Regions from separate parts of the Homo sapiens genome. Here all the other regions are linked to region 3. The links are contacts of gene promoters, found by promoter capture Hi-C in human tissues and cell types (Jung and others, 2019). All regions are on one chromosome and are shown on one strand. The core of a region is centred on a gene start or on the middle of the fragment in contact, and the rest is flanking DNA. Distances in the headings are between cores, read along the strand shown.

Evidence for each region. The method cuts DNA at HindIII sites, captures the fragments that hold promoters and counts their contacts. A contact is called where the count stands out against the background at its distance.
Region 1: a contact is called between a fragment that was not itself captured here and the fragment with the promoter of OR10H5 in region 3, in 9 of the 25 tissues and cell types used here (H1 embryonic stem cells, bladder, heart right ventricle and 6 more).
Region 2: a fragment that was not itself captured here is called in contact with the fragment with the promoter of OR10H5 in region 3 in 5 of the 25 tissues and cell types used here (mesendoderm cells, neural progenitor cells, ovary and 2 more).

What each region holds. Positions count from the first base shown.
Region 1 is chr19:15,609,724-15,612,646 of GRCh38, forward strand. It overlaps the pseudogene RPL23AP2. Among named protein-coding and RNA genes, the nearest start is that of CYP4F8, 4.0 kb to the right of the region's middle. The HindIII fragment of the contact is 7,491 bases long and covers 1-2,923 here.
Region 2 is chr19:15,943,140-15,946,258 of GRCh38, forward strand. No RefSeq gene overlaps it. Among named protein-coding and RNA genes, the nearest start is that of OR10H4, 4.3 kb to the right of the region's middle. The HindIII fragment of the contact is 5,665 bases long and covers 1-3,119 here.
Region 3 is chr19:15,785,861-15,788,922 of GRCh38, forward strand. It overlaps OR10H5 (olfactory receptor family 10 subfamily H member 5), which reads left to right and starts at 1,801. Exons shown (of 2, transcript NM_001004466.2): 1 at 1,801-1,856. The HindIII fragment of the contact is 26,370 bases long and covers 1-3,062 here.

The DNA.
Region 1 (2,923 bases), core at 320-2,819, 180 kb before region 3:
AAGATCCTATTTTACCCTGCCCTAGAATTCAACAAAAACCCTTACCTTAAATTTGTAGCAGTAGCTCTTATTCTGAGAACATCACTGCACCTCCTAGCCAAGGGGGAAAGCAGCTTCAATAAGGCAGAACTTTGCCTAAAACAGGAAGTTCGTTGATTTCAGGAGAAACTTATCTGTTGCATCCAGCAGGGGCATCCCAGTTGGGGGAACACGATGGATTCCGTGCATGAAGGTTGAAACCTGCTCAGGAAGGTCCAGGGTGACCAGGGAGGCCACTCTGAAACACTGATGACTACATCATTTTGTGGAGTGAAATTAAAGCTGCCGAGGCAGAAATACTTTGATAAGGGTTTATTTGAAGCCAAAGGTGAGGATCAACCCAGAAAGATGCACCAACACATTTGGATGTGTGCCAGAATCTTTTACAATTTGGAATGTTTTTATAAGAAAGTTTAGGAGAAGAGAAGGGAACTTCTTATATCAGAATTGTCTGTTTTTATTGGAGGGTATAATACAGAGGTCATAATGATTAGATACAGGTTATAACATACAGGCTAAAACATTTTGTATGTAAAACCATCAGTGAAACTTTATAAGAGAGGGCACAGTGGCTTATGCCTGTAATCCCAGCACTTTGGGAGGTTGAGACGGGCAGATCCCTTGAGGAGAAGCTCATCGCTCCTGAGGCCAGTAGTTCGAGACCAGCCTAGCCAATATGGTGAAACTCTGCTCTACTAAAAATACAAAAATTAGCTGGGCATGGTGGCACATGCCTGCAATCCCAACAACTCGAGAGGCTGAGGCAGGAAGGTTGCTTGAACCTAGGAGATGGAGGTTGCAGTAAGATGAGACTGCGCCACTGCACTCCAGCCTGGGTGACAAAGACCCTGTCTCAAAAAAAAAAAGAAAAGAAAAGAAAAACTTTATGATTTATAAATATAAAGCAAAACTTCATGGTTTAGAAACAAAGGATTGTGCTTTTCCATATCAGTGGAAAATCAGAACATCAACAGTTGGAAGAACTCATAAGATCTGAGTAATTAAAGATAAGATTTGAGGAACTCACAAGATTCTTTACTCAGGAACAGGATGTAACCCATGCATCAAGAGATCTTTTCCGGGGGCTAATTGGGACTAATGTGACTGGTAGGTTATCAGCAGAGACCACGTCTGTCTTGTTCAACCTGTGTCCCAGGTCCTAGCACCATGCCTGCTACCATTTAAGTGTTCATGTGAAGTTTGTTGTTGAGAAACTAATTACCTAAAAGTTAGAACTTGACCTTTGCATTTTATCGAGGAGGCTATGAGACTCAGAGGGTTACACAGCTAGTGAGTGGCAGAGCCTGGACTTGAACTCAGTTGTGCTGAAGCCAGAATGTGTTCCTTCCTGAGCATTCAAGGACAGGGAAGGTGAAACTCCAGCTAGTGGGCAGCCCGTGTGCTTGTTCTAGGGAGACTGCAGGCCGATTCCTGGGAGCTGGGTCTTCATGGTGACACAGTAAGAACAACTCACCTATTGGCTGGGCGCAGTGGCTCACGCCTGTAATCCCAGCACTTTGGGAGGCCGAGGTGGTTGGATCACTTGAGGTCAGGAGTTGGAGACCAGCCTGGCCAATATGGTGAAACCCTGTCTCTACTAAAAATACAAAAATTAGCTGGGTGTGGTGGCTCATGCCTGTAATCTCAGCTGCTCGGGAGGCTGAGGTAGGATAATCGCTTGAACCTGGTGGGGCGGAGGTTTCAGTGAGCCGAGATTGGCACCATTGCCCTCCAGCCTGGGTGACAAAGTGAGACTCTGTCTCAAAAAACAAAGCAAAGCAAAACAAAACAAAACGAAACAGAACTACTCACCTATGTTGTGGATCAACTGTGTCCCCACTGTACCAAATCCTTATTTATTTAAAAAAATTTGTTTTGGACCCTTTTCACAAGATGGTGCCGAAAGTGAAGAAGGAAGCTCCTGCCCCTCCTAAAGCCGAAGCCAAAGCGAAGGCTTTAAAGGCCAAGAAGGCAGTGTTGAAAGGTGTCCACAGCCACAAAAAGAAGATCCACACGTCACCCACCTTCCGGCGGCCGAAGACACTGCGACTCCGGAGACAGCCCAAATATCCTCGGAAGAGCGCTCCCAGGAGAAACAAGCTTGACCACTATGCTATCATCAAGTTTCCGCTGACCACTGAGTCTGCCATGAAGAAGATAGAAGACAACAACACACTTGTGTTCATTGTGGATGTTAAAGCCAACAAGCACCAGATCAAACAGGCTGTGAAGAAGCTCTATGACATTGATGTGGCCAAGGTCAACACCCTGATTCGGCCTGATGGAGAGAAGAAGGTATATGTTCGACTGACTCCTGATTACGATGCTTTGGATGTTGCCAACAAAATTGGGATTATCTAAACTGAGTGCAGCTGCCTAATTCTGAATATATATATATATATCTTTTCACCATATACATGCCTCTCTGTCAATTTCTGGTTGGGCTGGGAGGCCACACACAGACACTGACATGACAGGGCTTGGGCAAGACTCCTGTTCTACTTATCCTTTTGAAATATTCACCCTGCCACTCCACCATGTGTGATCACTCCAGAGATCTTTGTGACTAGAGTTAGTGTCCTAGGAAAACCAGAACTCAGAACTTGCCTCCATGGTTGAGGGTAACAAGAAGCTGTACAAGAACCCCTTTTATCCCTGGAAGAGGCTGTGTATGAAACCAATGCCCAGGGTTTGAAGGGCGTTAGCATCCATTTCAGGGGAGTGTGGATTGGCTGGCTTTCTGGTAGCATTTTGTCCTCACACACCCATCTACTGTGTCCAACCGGTCTGTCTGCTTCCCTCACCCCTTGCCCAATAAAGGACAAGGACTTCAGAGGAAAAAAAAAATTGTTTTAATTATTACATTTATAGCATCCCAGCTTGA
Region 2 (3,119 bases), core at 350-2,849, 160 kb after region 3:
TGTTTGTGCTTTTGAAATTTTGTTTAGGAAGTCTTTCCTCAAGCCTAGCTCACAAAGTTATTCTCCTATACTTTCTTCTACTAAATTTATACTTTGACATTTGGTATTTATTTTTTGAATCCAGCTGGATTCCTCCTTTGTATGTGCTGTTAGGCAGAAAATCAGATTTACTTTGCTTCATAAAATGAGCAGTTTTTTCACTACAATGAGTAAACAATCTACCTTTTCCTCTTGACTTGTGCCAGTACATTTATCATGTACTATATTAGGTTTTGAATAATGCAGGGATATTTTTTGAGATTTCCAATCAACTTATTCAGATCTATGTCTGTTCCATCTTTCATAATTTTAAAAATGACTATGACGCTATTGTGTGTCTCAGCATGTGGGAGAGAACAGCTCTTCTCTTGTTTCCATTTTTATAATATTAGTATGGTTCGTGCTAACATTTATGTATGTATGTATTTGAGACAGAGTCTTAGTCTGTCACCCAGGCTGGAGTGCAGTGGTGCCGTCTCCACTGATTGCAACCTCCACCTCTTGGTTTCAAGTGATTCTCCTGCCTTAGCCTCCTGAGTAGCTGGGATTACAGGTGCCCAACACCACGCCTGGCTAATTTTTGTATTTTCGGTAGAGACAGGGTTTTGTCTTGTTGGCCAGGCTGGTCTCAAACTCTTGGCCTCCTCAACCTCCCAAAGTGCTGGAATTACAGGTGTAAGCCACCACACTGGCCTGACATTTATTTTTCTGAAGGAATTTTCAAATAGTTTCATTAAATGTATGGTTGATTCACTGGAACTGTAAACACAATTGTATTGAGGTTATAATTTGAGTATGAATTGACATCATTCATACATCAAGCCATACCACCCAAGACTGTAAACTGCTCCCCGTATGTTCAGATAATCTTCTACATGTTTATTAGTATGGATTTAAAATTTTTCTCTTTGAAGGTATGGGATGCTTTGGGTTAATTCCTAGATATTTCATAGTAGAATTTTTCAAAGTATGATATGAGGACCTCTGCAGGGTGATCCCTGAAGTCTTTATTTTTTCTAATTATATATTAGAATATATTTTCATCATATGCCTCAACTAAGACATCATACAGGCTCCCACCACCACACCCGGCTAATTTTTTGTATTTTTTTTTTAGTAGAGACGAGGTTTCACCATGTTATCCAGGATGGTCTTGATCTCCTGACCTCGTGATCTGCCCACCTCAGCCTAGGATTACAGGTGTGAGCCACCGCGCCTGGCACATATTGCCACAGACTGAATAAAGAAAGAAATGTGAGCATCAAGCTGTTTCCTGCCAAGCCAGGACATACGATGTTTTTGCTAAAACGTCAAACAAGGCTACTCTTCTCACGGAATGTTTTTTCTTAATGTGGTTATTTGCCTGAAAATGTTACTTATATTTGTAAGAGTTAAAGAAAGAAGAAAGAAACACGAAACATGGCTTGGCAGTTAAAGACAGGTTTACTTTAGATAAAACCTGAGGGGGGCTTCTGGCCAATTTCAGTCAGGAGAAGTTTCTCTTACACACTAAGAGTACATATTAGTTTTAGGGTGAGGGGCTTATCACAAGCTTGGAATGTTTCTGTGTGGGGGAGAAGTTTTATGGCAGGGTTGGAATGTCTCTGGGAGGAGGGGAGGTTATCTTGGGGCTGACATCTTTCCGGCCGGGTGGGAGTGATCTTGAGGCTGGCATCTTCCCAGCCAGAGGAGGCAAATTTCGGGGCCAGCATGTCTCTCACTGGGGAGGAGTTTGGAATATTTCTGGCTGGAGATGTTATTTATGGTTTATGGTTGTGCTGACCTTAGCCATTAGCCTGACACCCTTTGGATTTAGGCGGTTTTTTATTAAGGGGAATTTTAGAATGAGGGGCTTGTCCAAGATAGTGATGCTCCTGCTCTGTCAATATTAGCATGCAATAGGTTCATTATTGCTCTTTTAAATGTACTAATAACTAATATTTTAAATGATTTTCAATTTTCATTTCCAATATGGTAAAAAACAATGATAGTTCTAAGCCACAATAAACAAAAGCCCTTTAGAGTGCTCAGTAATTTGGGTGTGTAAAGGAATCCTGAGACATGTTTCTTTATATTTTTCTTTATATTTTGTGCATTTGAAATTTTGCTTAGGAAGTCTTTCCTCGTGCCTAGATTACAAAGTTATTATCCTACACTTTCTCCTATTAAATGTAAAGATAATGGCAAAGAGTGCAACTACTTTTGCACCAACCTAATAGTTTGTGTTGCTGTTGGGAATCTTCCCCTTCTCTGTATTCAACTTCTATTTCTTGAATGCTTGTTACTGGTGTGACACTAGGAGGATCACTGGGATTTTTGCCAGCTGACCTTGCCTTCTGCATCACTGGGCTCTGTTATTGTTCCAATAGATTATACCATCATTCTTTTATCTTTTATATGTAGATGATCACGTCTCTTCGCTTCCAGTCCTCAGATACCTTAGATACTTTGTTTCTTTTTCTTGCCTTGTAACATCACTCACGACTTTCAGCTCCATGTTAAAGAACAGCAGAGTTAGTGAGTATCCTTGGCTTTTTCTTGATCCTAAAATAATGCATCAAAAAGTTTCTTCATTTAGTGTATGTAGTATTTGCTAATTTTGTGCTATATATTCTATATTTAGATAAGAAAATCTCCTTGAATTTTGTGTTGTGAAGTGTTCTTTAAAAATCATAAATAGGAGTAGAGTTTAAGAAAAACATATTTATGCCTTTATTGAAATAATCATGATTTTTCTTTTTTAATCAACTCCTGTGATAAATCATATGATAGGTTTTCTGATGTTAGCCATCCTTGTCATTTGTGAAATAAATCTATACCACTTTATTATGGTAAACCATTTTTAATATACCATTAAATTTGACTAGGTTATGGTTTTATTCTGGAATTTAAAATCTGCATGGATAGGTGAAGTAGGCCTATAGTTGTCTCTTTTTCTTTTTTTTTTCTTTCTTTTTATTTTTTGAGACAGAATTTTGCTCTTGTTGCCCAGGCTGGAGTGCAATGGTGCAATCTCAGCTCACCACAACCTCCACCTCCCGGGTTGAAGTGATTCTCCTGCTTCAGCCTCCCAAGTAGCT
Region 3 (3,062 bases), core at 551-3,050:
CCATATGAACTTTAAAGTAGTTTTTTCCAATTCTGTGAAGAAAGTCATTGGTAGCTTGATGGGGATGGCATTGAATCTATAAATTACCTTGGGCAGTATGGCCATTTTCACAATATTGATTCTTCCTACCCATGAGCATGGAATGTTCTTCCATTTGTTTGTATCCTCTTTTATTTCATCGAGCAGTGGTTTGTAGTTCTCCTTGAAGAGGTCCTTCTATCTGATCTTTGACAACATGACAAAAACAAGAAATGGGGAAAGGATTCCCTATTTAATAAATGGTGCTGGGAAAACTGGCTAGCCATATGTAGAAAGCTGAAACTGGATCCCTTCCTTACACCTTACACAAAAATTAATTCAAGATGGACTAAAGACTTAAATGTTAGACCTAAAACCATAAAAACCCTAGAAGAAAACCTAGGCAATACCTTTCAGTACATAGGCATGGGCAAGGACTTCATGTCTAAAACACCAAAAGCAACGGCAACAAAAGCCAAAATTGACAAATGGGATATAATTAAACTAAAGAGCTTCTGCACAGCAAAAGAAACTACCATCAGAGTGAACAGTCAACCTACAGAATGGGAGAAAATTTTTGCAATCTACTCATCTGACAAAGGGCTAATATCCAGAATCTACATCTGACTAATTTTTGTATTTTGAGTAGAGATGGGGTTTCGCCATGTTGGCCAGGCTGGTCTTGAGCTCCTGAACTCAAGTGATCCACCTGCCTCAGCCTCCCAGAGTGCTGGGATTACAGGCATGAGCCACCGCGCCCGGCCCCCAACTCACTAATTCTCTCTTCAATTGTGTCTGACATGCATTAAACTTCTCCTGGGATATTAATATTGTAGCTTTGGTTCTAAAAATTATATATCTTTTTTTTCAAATCAACCCTGCCGCTCTTTACAATGCTTTATCCTTGAAGATATTTCCAAAATTACATTTCGTTATTTAAACTTCGTAAGCAATATTGTTTCATAGTCCTTGCCTGATAATTCCAGTATCTGAAATCTTTGTTGGACTGTTTCTGGAGTTATGGGGAACTGGGAGATTCTGAAGGTGTTGATACCTGGGTCATGATGCACCCTGTCAAGTTTATGGGGAGGAAGAGGCAGAGCTGGAGCTCTTGGCCCCTCCACTCCATCTGGGCTTGCTGCAGGAACCTACCGTGTGACCTTGGCCTTGTTCCCTGCCCTCTGTGGGCTTTGTGTTCCCAGAGGCAACCATAGAGGATGCTTCTTCTGAGAATCACACCTCTGTGTCTCTCCAGATCCCTTTCCTGATATCTGTTGAGAAGAGACACCATCCTGGGAAACATCACCCAGAATCCAGTCCCATTTTTCCAAAATGCTTGGAATTGGGGCAGCCCAGCCCAGCCTCGCTAGCCGCAGGGGGTGGTGGTGGTGGTGGTGTCAGGGTTTGATGGTGGTGTCAGGGTTTGATGGTGAGATCTTTAGGGAGGAGGTGATGTAAAAACTGAAACCTCAAATGAGAACAGGACTGAGATAAGTGAGAGTGAGTAGTGGTGGAAGGGGTCCCAGGCAGGAGGAAGGGAGGAAAGATGGAAGAAGGGAAGAAGAGAGGAAGGAAGGAAGAGAAGGAAGAAAAGAGGGAGGGAAGCAGCAAAGGAAGGAGGGAGGCAGGAATGGAGAGGGCAATCCCAAGGTCCCCCGCCTCCCTCCTTGGACTTCGATTACCCTGCATCCTGCATCCCAGGCAGGCTCCTCAAGACACCTCTGGGAACGTGCCACTGGGGAAGACGCCTGCAGAGATGAAGCTCTCACCCTGGGTGCACTGTGCCCAGGGCCATTACAGGCCTGGCTGCAAGGCGTCCCTAAAGGTCTCTGATGAAGGTAAGTGGAGTCGTCTATTTCCAAACCTGCTTTCCAGGATGAAGTGGCAAGAGTACTGGGAGGTGGAAGGGAGAAGGCAAGAGAAGCAGGGAAAATTGGAACAGAGGGAGGCACAGGTTTGGGAAAAGAAACGAGAGGGAGCATGGGATGATATGGAGTAGGGGTTCTATAGCCTCAGCCACCTGACTCCAGGCTGGATCAGCCTGTCCTCACTCCAAGTCCCCCATAGAGTCCACCTACTGCCTAGAGCAGCCCCCTTTCCACAGCAGTCGTGGCCACCAGGGTCCATGCTGGGGTGGGGAGTGGTCTCTATACTAAGTTGTGGAGGAGGGTGGTTCTGAGCCAAGCGGGTGACATTGAGTGTGTCACCATGCATGTGGGTGTACTTAGGCATCACCCATGTGTACTCCTGCCTTCACTGTGTGTGTGTGTGTGCAGTTGTGTGCGCTTGTATGAGATTATTGTAGCTGCCATTTCAAAGTGCCGCAAACCTTGTGGCTTAAAACAAGATAAATGCATTCTTGCAGGGTTCTGGAGGCTAGACGTCTTAAAGCAAGACGTCTACAAAGCTACTCTCCCTCTGAAGATTCTAAGGGAGAAGATGCCTTGCCTCTTCCAGCTTCTGGGTGCTCTAGGCATTGATTGATTTGTAGCTGCATCGCTCCAATCTCTGCCTCTCTCTTCACGCGACCTTTTCCTCTGTGTGTCCTCCCCTCGTCTTTGAGGGGCACCAGTTGTTGGATTTAGTAAACAACCTAATTCAGAATAATCTCATTTTTATTTTTATTATTATTATTTTTTGGACAGGGTCTCGCTCTGTCACCCAGGCTGGAGTGCAGTGGCACGATCACAGCTCACTGCAGCCTCGACCTCCCAGGCTCAACTGATCCTCCCACTTGGCCTCCTAAGCAGCTGTTAGCGCAGGCACACAGCACCACGCCCAGCTAATTTTTGTAGAGATGGGGTTTTGCCATGTTGCTCAGGCTGGTCTCGAACTCCTGGATTCAAGCAATCCCCCGCCCCACCCACCTTGGTCTCCCACAGTGCTGGGATTATAGGTGTGAGCCACCACACCCAGCTGATCTCATTTTTGGATCCTTACCTTAATGACATCTGTAAAAGACTCTATTGCCACCTAAGGTCACATTATTTTATTTTAGTTTAGTTTAGTTTGGTTTCAGGGTACATGCTCAGGATGTGCAGGTT